Regions from separate parts of the Homo sapiens genome. Here region 2 is linked to region 1. The links are contacts of gene promoters, found by promoter capture Hi-C in human tissues and cell types (Jung and others, 2019). All regions are on one chromosome and are shown on one strand. Each heading gives the region's core, a stretch centred on a gene start or on the middle of the fragment in contact. The rest is flanking DNA. Distances are from core to core; before and after follow the strand shown. Region 1 holds the start of THEM5 (thioesterase superfamily member 5). Region 2 holds the start of CGN (cingulin).

The links. Contacts are between HindIII fragments. The study calls those that stand out against the background at their distance.
Region 2: the fragment with the promoter of CGN here is called in contact with the fragment with the promoter of THEM5 in region 1 in 1 of the 25 tissues and cell types used here (mesenchymal stem cells).

What each region holds. Positions count from the first base shown.
Region 1 is chr1:151,850,780-151,857,939 of GRCh38, reverse strand. THEM5 (thioesterase superfamily member 5) reads left to right here and starts at 4,228. Exons shown (of 6, transcript NM_182578.4): 1 at 4,228-4,497; 2 at 5,481-5,682; 3 at 6,749-6,887. The coding sequence starts at 4,375. It overlaps C2CD4D-AS1 (C2CD4D and THEM5 antisense RNA 1), which reads right to left. Exons shown (of 4, transcript NR_152846.1): 4 at 6,405-7,160. The HindIII fragment of the contact is 11,981 bases long and covers 1-7,160 here.
Region 2 is chr1:151,508,613-151,515,772 of GRCh38, reverse strand. It overlaps CGN (cingulin), which reads right to left and starts at 4,386. Exons shown (of 21, transcript NM_020770.3): 1 at 4,258-4,386. RefSeq lists enhancers at 1,851-2,426, 2,427-3,003, 3,866-4,005, 4,157-4,732, 4,733-5,309 and a silencer at 4,336-4,735. The HindIII fragment of the contact is 12,501 bases long and covers 1-7,160 here.

The sequences.
Region 1 (7,160 bases), core at 2,979-5,478:
GAAAGCATCCACAAGATATGTGGAATGGTGGGAGGAGGAGTTGGAAAGGGAGAAAGGAGCACTTTCTCAATAATCCTAATCTTTCTTTTCCTAGATGGCCTTGGAAACCTCCTTCACTCTCCTCCAGCCAGCCTAATTGGGGGCCACATCCATGGTTGTACCATCAGTTATGGATGTTCTTCTCAGATATCCTAATTCTTTCCATCTGTCATGCCCTTGATCCAACTAGAGCTGCTCTGCAGTATCACAGACAGCGCCAGAGCCTCGTCTCTCTTATTTTCTCCCTCCTGGATGCTCTTCCCTCCTAGCAGAGAAGTGAAAGTTGACCTCGACCAGTTGTCAGCTCCTTCCCTTCCCCTGTTTTCCTCTGGACCACATCATCCAGCTGAACCTTGGTAATTATCCACTCAAGAAAATAAAGTGATACAGGAAACAAATGTAACTGTAGTATGTGGCAAGGCTGAGAGCAAAAGTTACATAATCATAATTATGTAAATATTTGAAAGTTGATTTAACCAAAAATCGTCAAACAACCAACATAGGAGGCAACAAGAGATTCAGACCCCACTGGGATCACCATGGGAAAATCGCTGGGTGACAACCCAGCTCCCAAGTGGCACTCAGCCCATGAAACAGCAATTTCCTTTCTCAGGTGCACCTACCAACTTTTTTTCTTCTTTTAATTGAGACAGGGTCTCACTCTGTCACCTAGGCTGCAGTGCAGTGGCACAATCTGGGCTCACTATAGCCTCAAACTCCTGGGCTAAAGCGATCCTCCTGCCTCAGCCTCCTGAGTAGCTGGGACCGCAGGCACACACCACCACACCCAGCTAATTTTTTTTCTTTTTTGTAGAGTCGGGGTCTCACTATGTTGTCCAGGCTGGTCTCGAACTCCTGGGCTCAAGCGATCCTCCCACCTCAGCCTCCCAAAGTGCTGGACTTACAGGCATGAGCCACTGCACCCAGCCACCTACTGACTCTTTATATTTTCTGAGACAGAGTTTCACTCTTGCTGCCCAGGCTGGAGTGCAATGGCGCAATCTCAGCTCACCACAATATCCGCCTCCTGGCTTCAAACGATTCTCCTGCCTCAGCCTCCCAAGTAGCTAGGATTACAGGCATGCGCCACCATGCCCGGCTAATTCTGTATTTTTAGTAGAGATGAGGTTTCTCCATGTTGGTCAGGCTAGTCTTGATCTCCCAACCTCAGGTGATCCACCCGCCTTGGCCTCCCAAAGTGCTGGGATTATAGGCGTGAGCCACCGCGCCTGGCCCTACTGACTCTTCTTAGGAGGACAGCTCTTTCCTCCTGGGGCCACCTTGCTGGAACCAGCTTCCAGCTGTCAGGGCCGCCTGAGGATCCCCTCTTGCTCCCCACTCACCTTTCCTCTGACTTCTCTCCAGTTCACCTATCCTTCCTAGGATTTTTCTTTTCTATCCTGTCTTCTCAAGTCCATCCTTCCAGATCAAGGATGGACCCAGGGAATGAAGGGATGCCAAGTGCCAGGGGACGCCTGGGCAAGCCACAGGCACAGGGTACCAGCTACAGCTATTGTGGTAAACTCAGGACCAGAGAGACAGATATGGAAAAACAGGACGATGTTTATTTTAAGGTAGGCATTGGCTCAGTGGATTCACATCCAAAAAGCTGAGCATTGAACAAAGACTGAGCAGGATTTTTATAAGCAGGCTTACAGAAGCAAAACAGGCAGTTAATCATATAATGACAGGTCACATAATCTATAGCATAACTGATGACTTGGCATAACTTGTGGCTTTGCATAGCTGGTGGCCTTGTAGCTGCGTGGAAAGAAAAAACAAGAACTGGCTAAATACAGACAGACATTTGTCCTTTTTTTTTTTTCCTTCACCCTTGCTCCAGACGGGGGATGTCTGGAGCCTATTCCTTTGGTTTCGACTTCTCGAAGAGCATTATCTTATAATTGTCTTTGAAGTGAGCTTGCTAGGCAGAGAAAAACTTGCTCTTCCTTTCTTTTTAACCTTTGCCTTGCCACATTCTGGGCCTTGGCTTTTACTTCTCAGACTAGGTCACTATGACCTTCTTATAGCCTTGTCTGTTACTTTTCTTGGAGTGAATGAATGTAGTACTTACTATCTTTTTTTAATTTCTGCCTCACAGCAACGGCTGCGGCCCAGGGCTGAAAATGAGTGCTGCCAGATATTCTCACTTATCTGGGGATGGCAACCAACTCAAATATCTTTGCTTAGACCCAGAGGCTGAATCAACCAAAAAAACTTCCAGCTGGGCGTGGTGCCTCATGCCTGTAATCCCAGCACTTTGGGACGCTGAGGCAGGCAGATCAGCCAAGGCCAGGAGTTTGAGACCAGCCTGGCCAACATGATGAAACCCCGTCTCTACTAAAAATATAAAAACTAGCCGGGCGTAGTAGCAAGCGCCTGTAATCCCAGCTACTTGGGAGGCTGAGGCAGGAGAATTGCTTGAGCCTGGGAGGCAGAGGTTGCAGTGAGCCGAGATGGTGCCACTGCACTCCTGGGCAATAAGAGTGAGACTCTGACAAAATAACAACAACAAAAAAAAATGGTTCCCCCAGTCCTTGAGGAAGTTTAATTCAAACCTTTGCAGGAGGTGAGGGGAAATATTTATATTCTAGTCTTCTTCTAGGGCAACCAAATACAGAGGGTGAACCAAATCTTTTAAATTTCCGCATTAAATCAGTTTCATCTTTTGGAACCTGCCAAAATGTCATAATCATCACAACTATTATTATCGTCATCATCACTGTTATGATTCCACCTTTGCACAGTTCTGATTTTTTTTTTTTTAAGACAAGGTCTCACTCGGCCTCCCAAAATGCTGAGATTACAGCCTTGAGCCACTGCGCGAGGACTGATCTTTAGAACATGCTTTTATTTTAGTCAATTTAAAACTGAGACTTTTAATTGAAAATTGGCAGTTTAAATTCAATAGAAGACACACCACCACCAAATCCCACTGCCTTGCAGATGTTGGCTGAGTGTCCCTTCCCACTCAACAAAGCCTCACTGCCGCGCCCACCTCACTCCCAGCACTGCCTGCTGACATGAGCCACTCCCTGGGCACGGGGTTCCCAAAACATGAGAGTATCCCTGCCAAGCTGTTTCCTCCCAAATTATTTTCTGCCCTCCCTGTCAAGCCCTCCCCCACCTCCAACTCCTATCCCCAGCCAGAGACCAGCAGGTGAAACTCTCCTGTGCTAACCCTTGTCCGGGATATAAGAAGAGGTGTTGGCCGGGTGCGGTGGCTCACGCCTGTAATCCCAGCACTTTGGGAGGTCACCTGAGGTCAGGAGTTCAAGACCAGCCTGGCTAACATGGCAAAACCCCATCTCTACTAAAAAAAATATACAAAATTTAGCTGGGTGTGGTGGTGTGTGTCTGTAATCCCAGCTACTCAGGAGGCTGAGGCAGGAGAATCACTTGAACCCAGGAGGCGGAGGTTGCAGTGAGCCGAGATCACGCCATTGCACACCAGCCTGGGCGACAAGATTGAAACTCCGTCTCACCAAAAAAAAAAAAAAAAAAAAAAAAGAGGTGTCTAAGGCTGTGAGTTGGTTTTCTTTTTTTTTATTTTTTTATTTTTATTTTTTTGAGACGGAGTCTCGCTCAGTCGCCCAGGCTGGAGTGCGGTGGCTAGATCTCAGCTCACTGCAAGCTCCACCTCCCAGGTTCACGCCATTCTCCTGCCTCAGCCCCCTGCGTAGCTGGGACTACCGGCACCCGCCACCACGCCCGGCTAATTTTTTGTATTTTTTTTAGTAGAGACGGGGTTTCACCGTGTTAGCCAGGATGGTCTCGATCTCCTAACCTCGTAATCCGCCGCCTCGGCCTCCCAAAGTGCTGGGATTACAGGCGTGAGCCACCGCACCCGGCCTGTGAGTTGGTTTTCTGAGTCACAAAATCATACCAGAGTTTTCAGAGTCCGGTATACACTGCAGAGCACATACCAAGAACACTCCACCAGCACCCTCCAATCAAGGGACAGGCTTCCCTTATCCTTCTGGAAATATTCTTGGATTCTCCCTCAGAACCCCCAGGCAGCTCTCCAAGGCTCTATATACCCCATACTATTTGTTTATGTACTTGTTTACTCCTTTTGCAACTCAAGCCAGTCCTGCTGCCTTTTCATGCCCAAGCAGCATCTGTCCCTCCCCAAGCACTGGGTGGGGCTCCTAGACCAGCTAAAGGCGCCGAGCATCTGTGGGTGTTGCAGCACACCAGCCCAGCCTCGCCTAGCTCTCTGAAAGAAAGCCTGCAACAGAAGGGAGAGAAGCGGCCCCAAGTGCAGCTGAAAGCACTCCTTGGGAGTCAGCCAAGACCCTCCATCCAAGCAGGGCTGGATCCTTGCACTTGGCCATGATAAGGAGATGCTTCCAGGTGGCAGCAAGACTTGGCCACCACAGAGGCCTTCTTGAGGCCCCCCGTATCCTGCCCAGACTCAACCCTGCCTCAGCATTTGGATCCTCCACAGACTCCATGGTGAGTTCCCAGCTCAGCCAGATGGGCAGTGTTTTCCCAGGAGCCTAGGGCTTAAGGAGCACCCCAAATCTCCTCTTCCCAGCCCATGGCCAGGGCAGGTGGGCAGTGTTCGGAGGAGCTATTTGATTTGGCAAAGAGAAAGTGCTCTGGGATACCAAGTTGCCCCCATTCAAAACTAAAACTACCAGGAGACCTGCATCTGGCTCTGTGTCTTGTGTGGCCACCAACAAATGACTTTCCTCCTGTGGGACTCAGACTACTGCAGCAAAGCTGGGGTATCCCCAGACAGAGGACCCCATCTGTGGCATTGGCAAGCAGCTCACATGCTGTCTACAGTTGTGACTGGTGTATGAGCAGGTGACGCTACAGAGGACTTCCTTACGTCACACAGATGGGCACATAGTCTGTGCCCCAGCCATGGCACCACACCTCTGTGGGGGCCCAAATGTGTTTCAAAGGAGCCACCCTGCCCAGGCAGGCCCACAGCAGTGGGCAGAGCTGGAGTAGCCCCTGAGGTGGGGGTTGCTAGAATGGTCCTCAACAACTGTGACCCTGCCCTGCAGAGGAGACAGCATCTAGTGCGACCACCAGCTCTCACAGTCACATGCTTGGCAACCTTGGCCGTATTCCCTCAGTTTCCCCATCTGTACAGTGAGGCTAATATGAGCAGTTGTCAACTTTAAAGAACTGCTCACATGTTTTAAGCAGAACAAGGGTAAGGCACCACATCGAGCAGCATGCCCATCATCTCTGGCCCCACTCCCTGCCCGCCCTTCCCTTGCTCTTTAGCATCCTTATGCCCCGTCACCCATAGGGGTCCGCAGCCCCCCTGCAAGGAATATGGGCCCTTTCCCTTGGATCGATACTCTGGCAGAAGGGATTGAGAAGCCCCAGCACCCAGGAACAGCTGTTTAGAGGTCCCGAGCCCAGGCAGCAGCCCCCCTCCAGGATGCTGTCTAGTCATTCTGATTTTTCCTGCCCAGTTCTCAAGATTCTTGCCAGAGAAGACAGACTTGAAGGATTATGCTCTTCCCAATGCCAGCTGGTGTTCGGACATGCTGAGCCTGTACCAAGAATTTCTGGAGAAGACTAAGTCTAGCGGCTGGATCAAGCTGCCCTCCTTCAAGTCCAACAGAGACCACATCCGGGGACTCAAGCTCCCATCTGGACTGGCAGTTTCCTCAGGTAAGGACAGGACCATGAGTACACACACCCCAGCCGCCCTTCCCTGTGTTCTAAGACTGAGAAGCAACTTCACAGACCGCCTTCCAGTTCTCAGCGAGTTCTTCCTGCTGTCCAACTCCACCCCTGATGCTGCAGCCCCAGGCAACAGGCGGCGGGTGTCCTCTCAGGTCTCCAGCTCCCCTCCTCCCATCTGAAGCAGCACACCCTGGTGGGCCCACCTTCGCTCCCAGCCAAGCATGTCCCCACTGGAGGACAGCCAGCCCAGCTCCTGCCCCGACTTCTCACTGACTGCCCCTCCCTAACTATCAAGCCTCATCCCAAGCCTTCCGCCCCAACCCCATGAAAGCCCTTGGACCCCACACCCCTTCCACTGAGGCCCTGCACATCATCCCTGCTGTGCGGGGTCTGGAGCAGCACTCCTGAAACACCTAATGATCCTAATGGATCCTAATGATAGAGCTTCCACCTTCTTGTGTGTGTGTGTGCACTCGTGTGTGCACGCATGTGTATCTCCCTGTCTCTCTCACTCATATATGTTGTCTTCCTGCCTAGTGATGAAGGAGTGGTACAGGGGACAGACTACCCTTGGGTTTATGGCACAAACAAAGCAGGAATACCAACATAATTTTTTTTCAAAGAATTTGATACTTCCAAAAAAGGATGTAGTAGTGGTAGCTGTCTTGGAAAAAAAAAATCAGAACTTTGATGGACTTTTCTGCTCTTATTTTACTGTTTACTATTATTCTTTTGAATTATATGTGAGTTACATGAGTAATTACATTTTCAATTTTCAATGCTTATGGTCTCTTAAAGTCTTGCCCTGGCCCTGATCCTATCTCCATTCTCAGCCAGGGCACTTCCTGCATGTTTCTGCCCTAGACAGAAAGGCTCTGTGAGGACAGCAACTGTGCCTCTGCTCCCAGAGGGAAGGCTCCCTGGGGGTGGACCTGGTGTCCTCTGGTTTTCTCTCCTTAATCTTGTACCAGAGGCAAGACTCAACCAAATGGTGCTGCATCCTGACCATACCCTCCCTTCTCCGGCTGCAACACTGCCTATCTCTCCCCAGACAAAGGTGACTGTCGCATCTTCACCAGGTGCATCCAAGTGGAAGGACAAGGCTTTGAGTATGTCATCTTTTTCCAGCCAACCCAGAAGAAGTCGGTCTGTCTTTTCCAACCAGGCTCCTACCTGGAGGGGCCCCCAGGGTAAGGTCACTGGTAGGACCTTGGCTGCCTCCTGGGCTTGGCTCAGCAGGGCAGGTTCAGCACCCACCAGGCTGGCCCTGGAGTCTCTATCTTTCTCTAAGGGGTGAGGAAGGGAGTGTGGGGCACTAGGCTTCAGCCTCACAATACCAGGCCTGGAAGGACACACAGGGTTATCTGGCCTAATCCCCAGTGTGCAGATATGGGCTTCTCATCAAAGTCTCAAAATTTTCTGGACAAAAGACCTGAGAGGCCACTTTGAGAAGAATGTGGTAC
Region 2 (7,160 bases), core at 3,137-5,636, 340 kb after region 1:
TCTGGTGTGGTGGCTCACGCCTGTAATCCCAGCATTTTGGGAGGCCAAGGTGTGTGGATCACTTGAACTCGGGAGTTTGAGACCAGCCTGAGCAATATGGCAAAACCCCATCTCTACAAAAAATACAAAAAACTAGCCGAGTATGGTGGTACACACCTGTAGTCCCAGCGACTTAGGAGGCTGAGGCAGGAGGATCACCTGAGCCCAGGAGGTTGAAGCTGCAGTGAGCTGTAATTGCACCACTGCACTCCAGCTTGGGCAATAGAGTAAGACTCTGTCTCAAAAACAACAACGACAACAAAAAACCCACAACTTTTCTGTGCCTCAGTTTCCTCATCTGTAAAATGGGTATAATGATAATACCCCACAAGGTTATTATCTGTGAGAATGAGATAATAAATAATTATATGGGCATATACAATGATAAAAAAGTACCAAGTTATACCCTTAAGATCTTTGTACTTTATTTAGGCCAGGCGCAGTGGCTCATGCCTGTAATCCCAACACTTTGGGAGGCTGAGATAGGCAGATCACCTGAAGTCAGAAGTTCAATAACAGCCCGGCCAACATGGTGAAACCCCACGTCTACTAAAAATACAAAAATTAGCTGTGCGTGGTGGTGCACGCCTGGAATCCCAGCTACTGGGGAGGCCGAGGCAGGAGAATTGCTTAAACCTGAGAGGCACAGGCTGCAGTGAGCCGAGATCCGCCAGCCTGGGTCACAGAGCAGGACTCCATCTCAAAAAAAAAAAAAAAGATGTTTGTACTTTATTGAACTTGGGTTCTAATTTAATAAAAAGGAGAGAAAAACAAGATATTAAACATGAAAACATTTAGCATGTGACTATCACAAAGCTGACAACAAATATCATCCTTCACACATGCTACTTTGTCCAACAGGCACTTTTGGCTTCACCTGGTTCATAGAAAGATGTCACTTCTTCAGAGAAGCCTTCCCTGACCACCACTCCCACAAACAAGGTCAGTTCTCACAAATCAGCCTCCCACAAACCAGGTCAGATCCACGTTATACGCTCTATAGTTGTCCTTCAGCAGGTTTACTCCAGTTTATATTTATACATTTATTGGAGTAATTATTTCCTGTCTGTCTCCCCTACGAGATAATAAGCTCCTGGAGGGCAAAGACCATGGCTAGCAGCTAACCACTGTGTCCCCAGGTGTTTGGACACGTGGTAGATGTCAACAAATATTTGTTAAAGGCTGTATCCTGAACTAAAGCCCACTTGCACAGCAGTGGGGAGATTTGCCCAGGACAAATCTACTTTGCCTCAGTAACAGGACCTCTTAGCAACAGGACCTCCTCCTGGTCCAGACTTGCTGCCCTATGTAGTCATGATCTTAGAACCAGAAGTGCCTAGATTGCCAGCTCTCAGAAGCCATATGATTTATTCATGATGCAGTCTACCCTGTCAGTACATCTACTGATCTTCCAGATCCAGGTCAAGGAGTTCCCAGCCTAGGCCCAGCAGAGGGCACAGACCCTTGAGCAACAGCACTAAATTATTCAGAGGCAGTGTTGAACACTCCCCCAGGTCCCAGGTTAGGTTAACTCCCTAACCTCAATCACCTTCAGTCCAAGGACATGTGGATCAGGGGCCAGGAGGGCTGAAGGGATCTTTGGGGTGGGTCAGAAAGCAGGGCTCTAAATGATTCAACATGGAAAACCCGAAACCTACCCGCCTTTGGTTACAGAGGACAGTGGGGCGGGACCAAGGCAGCAGGGCAGCTCTGAGGCCTTGCGTAAGCCCCAGAGACAGGCAGGTAAACAGTGATCAAGGGCCAGGCAACATGGAGTCCAGGGCCTGCGCCCTCACCAATGCCTGACCCTACTTTTCTCTCCCCTATCACATGTCCAGGGCTCTCCTCACCAACTGTACTCCAGGAAGAGACCAGACCACAAGTTGATTCAGGTGCATCTGTCTGCTTCTGCCTTTCCTGCCTGCAAGGAGTGGGAGAACACTCTACACCTGTACCAGACAGCCACTTCTCCCTGAGTTACTCATTAGCCTGCCCTGCCCCAATTCCATCACCTCTGGCCCAGCCATATGCATCTGGTTTCCAACTAGGAGTGACAGGGTATCTGGACTTCTGGCAGGAAGTGGGGGTGGGGTGGTTTCGGGTGTGTGGAGGAAGGACTGATTCACATAGGGCCAGGCAATATGCTTGATGCTAAATAATTGGCAGATTTAGAAAACGGGAGAACTTGAGGTATAGAGATTAGAATCCCCTCAGAGGAAACAAGGAAAGCAAATGGTCGAAATAGAAAAGGACAGCTCAGTGACCTTGATGATTTGGCACCCTTTTTCTCATAGTTAGAGATAAGAAGGTTCCCCGTGGATCCAAAAAGAATCCCCCAAGTGGACTCCTGCCCAGGTCCGCTGAAAGAGCAGAAACCTGAGAGCCAGGCTACAGCTGCTTGGCCAGTAGGGAAAAAAACACAATGAGGAACTGGGCCCCTGCAAACTGGCTGGACTGGTTTGAGAGGCAAGGGGAAGGGGAGGGCCGGGGAAACTACACTGGCAGCTTGTAAAGCAGACCAGAGAAATTCCACACCACGGAGGAGGCAGAGGGGCAAGACCACAGGCAGGGGCTCTCCAGCCTTGATGGCAAAGCCAAAGCTCTGAAGGAGAGGACAGAGGGCAGGGAGGGAACAGGCAGGAGGAGCAGATGAACAGGAACCTGGTGACAGGCCAGTATGTGACAGGGAGACTTTGTCTCCCTCCACCCCTCCCTTTGAGGTTCCCAAAGTTGCATTCCTGATCCCACACTTGCTTTGGCCACCTCCCTGGTCCTCAGTCCGCCCCTCCCTGGCACAAAGAGAAGAGCCCTACACCCCCATCACCTCCCACAAGGGGAATGGCATGCAGGCCAGCCTGGGAAACACAGGAAGGGTTCTAGGAAGCCAGAATCCTCTTAGAGTCGGGCAAATCTCTGGATTAGCAGTCCCCCAGAGCCAGCCCCCAGACTCCCAAACATCCAGGATGAAAGAAGAGATGCATAGGCATGTGTAGGCAGCCCATCTACAAACATAGCGGTTGCTAATTATTTCCCAATTACAACAACCTTCCTCAGGCAGGGCTTCAAAGGGGCCAAGCTAAGGTTGACTCTAGTTCCTTTACCTGCCTAAGGCAAAGAAATTTGCCTCCAGTCTTGTCTGGGCCCCAAGGTGCACCTTTCATCTGTCCTGGGGATTTGGAGTTGTAATTTCCCTAGTCTCGTGGTCTCCTGATGAGTCCTGCCTATTTCCTGCCCCAATAGTGCCTGCTGCCATTCTGACAGCCACCGCAGTTCAGGAGTCAGGGATGCCTGGAGGGCGTTCAGGGAGTAATGGGGATTCCTCCAGACATCAAGGAAATTGGTTGGGCTCCCAAACCTCATCCAATGGTCCCCATCTAGAACCACAGAAAAAATATGTGGGTACTTGGAGAAAGGGTTTGACATCCGCCCCCAGAAAGGGGCCTCCTGAGAAATAAGTATTAATATTTATCAATATTTTGCAGGACCAGGCAGGGCTCTTTGCTTCCTCATATCCCTCTCTTGGGGAGTACTCTCTCTCTCTCTCAAGAGGAAGAAGGAACGATTCTCCCTGGCACGAAAGCAAAGGACACAAAGTGAAAGCCTAATGGTTGTACACCTGGTGAAGAGATGAGGGTGCCCTCTCATCTGCCCCTCAGTGTCTCTGATTCGCAACTGCCTTCGGCCGGAGGTGAAGGGCTGGGGAAAAAATCCCACACCTCAGAGTCATCTCAAAGCCACCAGGGTGCTGACAACGGCCAGCTGAGACCGCAGGACGCAGGAAAGACCCTCAGGCGAGCAGCACCTGCAGATGCCCTCCCCTGGCGAGTCTGCACCTCAGGCAGCAGCAGTTCCCGACTCAGCTGGAACTAACTCCTTCCCCGCGCCACCGCTGTCTCCAAGAGAAATTCTGCCCCTAGGGCTGGCGTCTGACCTCCAGAGACATCTGGCGCTGAAACGCTTTCATGCGCTGGGAACAGCCTTCGCCCCAGGTGCCCCTCGCCTGGCACCTTCCTAGCCACCTGCATCTGGCACCTCAGGGTAGGGGTCGGCTCTTAATCAGTACCCCACCCCGCCCCAATCTCCCCTCCTCCCGTCTCCCACTCGGCACCGGTGCCCTGGAGAGGGGCATCTCACACCGCCTCGATGCCTGCCCCTCAAAGGTACCCCTGAAGGCTCGCTTTCCTCTCGGGTGCCCTGGCCCGCACCGGGTCCACTCACCCTAGCCGGGCTCCGCGCTCCCAGGCTTGCGTTCGGGCTCGGGCTCGGGCTCGGGCTCGGGCTCGGGCTCGGGCTCGGGCAAAGCAGCACGCGCAGCTCCGGCCCTCCCCCTCGTCCTCGGAGCTCCCTCCTTTCTCTCCCTCCCACCAACCTGTTACTCCGCTGCGGAGCTCCACCCCCGCGGGCCGTCAGTGCCCGCCCCGCCTTTCCCCGCTCCGGTTGGTCCGCTTCCCGTAGGGGGCGGGGCCTCCGGTGCGGGGACCGGGACCCGGGGTCTCCAGCCGCGAAGGGCGGGCCAGGTCACGTGGACCCACGGGCTGCGGAGCGTCGGGGCGGGGCGGCGAGGGGCGCGGAGGCCATTTTGGGGGCGTCGCGGATGGTCGCGAGTGACCGCCGGCCAAGATCCCGGGAGCCGTCGGCCAGAGCATCTTCTGGGCTCTGCTAGAAAACAGCCTCCTGCCTCCCGTTTACTCCAAGGGAATCGCCGGCCAGGGCCCTTTCTGTCCTTCACCTACCTCTGCAGGAACCAGAATGCTCTTTCGTCACTTTCTGCAGAAAATATCTCCGTTGTCCCCCGACGTCAGAGCCTCCTGCACCTCAGCTCGTCTCCCTTTTCCCTGACCCGAACCAGAACCCTGATCTTGGATTCTCTTTTATCTTGTGGCCTCCGCAATCATTTTGCAGCCTGACATCTTTTTCTATGTAATATTTATCACCTTCTAGTTAATAACATAATTTTAAAAATCATTTTCATCATTTTGCCTCCCGTCCTACGATAAGCTTCACCAGAGCAAGGATCTCTTGTTCTGTGCCTTGCTTCACCCCAAACGCCTACAACAGGGACTGGTACATACTACATGCTTAATAAATATTTGTTGACTGAATGAATGGAAACCGGGGACGCAAATTTACCAAAATAGGAATGACCTTCGTTCTAAACTGAAAGGGACTCAGTTGTAAATTTACCTCAGAGTTAGCCTCTCAAAAAGTAGGGATGCTGATCCCAGTTCCTAGAAAAGAGTAAAAACTAGGGGCTCTGCAAACTGCAGGACCGCTCATACCAGCTGCAGTTAAAACAACATTAAAGCTGGCATCCTAGCTGTTAACCGTTGAGATATGTAAAAAAGAGATTGACTTCGTTTACGTTGCTGGGCTCCGGATTTTGTTCTCATTTAGTTACAACAAATATTTACCCTGTATCTATTGGAGTAGAAGAGGAATCTTCGATGCAGCACAGATTCCGGTGTATTCTCGGGAGCTGGTTTCCGCCCCTCCCCAAGCCTTCAAAAGCTAGGTGTGGGTCCTACAGAGTAAAGTCCACTTACCAGCTCCTCAGCTGGGATGCAAAGTCTCTGCATTCCAGAGCAAGCTGTATATAAGGATTAGGGCCATCAAACCGGCCTGTTCCCTGGGGAGGAACAGCAAAAAACATGTAGTGGGGGTGGGGACAGAAGAGGAAATGTCCTTCCAGGAGCGCACCTCCTGAACACTGGGTGGCTTTTAAAAGACTTTTTTTTAAAAAATTTTTTCTTATTTTTCTTTTATTGTGCAGCCTCCTGAACCAGAATAGGTTCAGAGACACTCCCATGGGATGGTTTTTGGTTTGGGTTTTTTTTGTTGTTTTTTTTTTTTAAGACGGAGTCTTGCTCTATCGCCCAGGCTAAAGTCCAGTGGCGCAATCTCGGCTCACTGCAACCTCCGCCTCCCAGATTCAATTGATTTCCGGCTAATATTTTGTATTTTTTAATAAAGACAGGGTTTCACCAGGCTGGTCTTGAACTCCTGTCCTTAAGTGATCTGCCCACCTTGGCCTCCCAAAGGGCTAGGATTACAGGCGTGAGCCACCACACCCAGCCTGTTTTGGGTTTTTTTGTTTTTGTTTTTGCTTTAGTTTTGTTTTTTTCATTGAGACGGAGTCTCACTCTGTCACCCGGGCTGGAGTGCAGTGGTGCAATCTCTGCTTACTGCAGCCTCAGCCTCCAAAGCTCAAGCGATCCTCCCACCTCAGCCTCCTGAGTGGCTGGAACTTCAGGCGCCCACCACCACACCGGGCTAATTTTGGCATTTTTAGTAGAGATGGGGTTTCCATGTTGTCCAGGCTGGTCTTGAACTCCTGAACTCAAGCGAACCGCCTGCCTCGACCTCTCAAAGTACTGGGACTACAGGAGTGAGCCACCACGCTCGCCCCCACCAAGTGTTTGTAAGGAGATTTTTTTTTTTAATGTGGGATATTAAATTGACTCAGATATTGGAAAGGCGGAAGCGCCTAAACTCCCCTAGATAACACCTTAGCAATTAGGATACTTAGTATATTTGTAGTAAATACCAATTTGGGTGGTTACCCAGCACCATGAACACGAATTACAAGGATAAGTGGGAGCCTCTGAGTCACCGCCTTCGTCATCTGTTCTTCAAGGAAGCACTCAGTCTGAGAGGTACATCCAGGCACAAGTGACAAAGGCGACACCCTGGTCTTTTTCCAGAGTTCAGAAGACAGGTGATCCCTCTCCTTAAGAAATGCTACAGGGCCAGGCGTGATGACTCATGCCTCTAATCCCAGCACTTTGGGAGGCCAAAACAGGAGGATAGCTTGAGCCCTGGAGTTGGATCGCTTGAACCCAGGAATTCAAGACCAGCCTGGGCAACACAGTGAGACCCCATCTTTATAAAAAATAATAATAATAAAATTTTTTCAAAAAAGAAATGGCAAAATTGGCCAGTTTATAAATACAGCAAAAACAGAATTTATAGCAAATATAATACCCAGAAAGAAGAAATAACACTGATAGATGTTAAAGAGAGAAGTTTTATTTTATGAAATGGGATAATAGAGAAAGTTTTAGGTAAATTGCAGGTTTCATCAAAGAAGTGGATTTGCCATCCTCGCTAACATGGTGAAACCC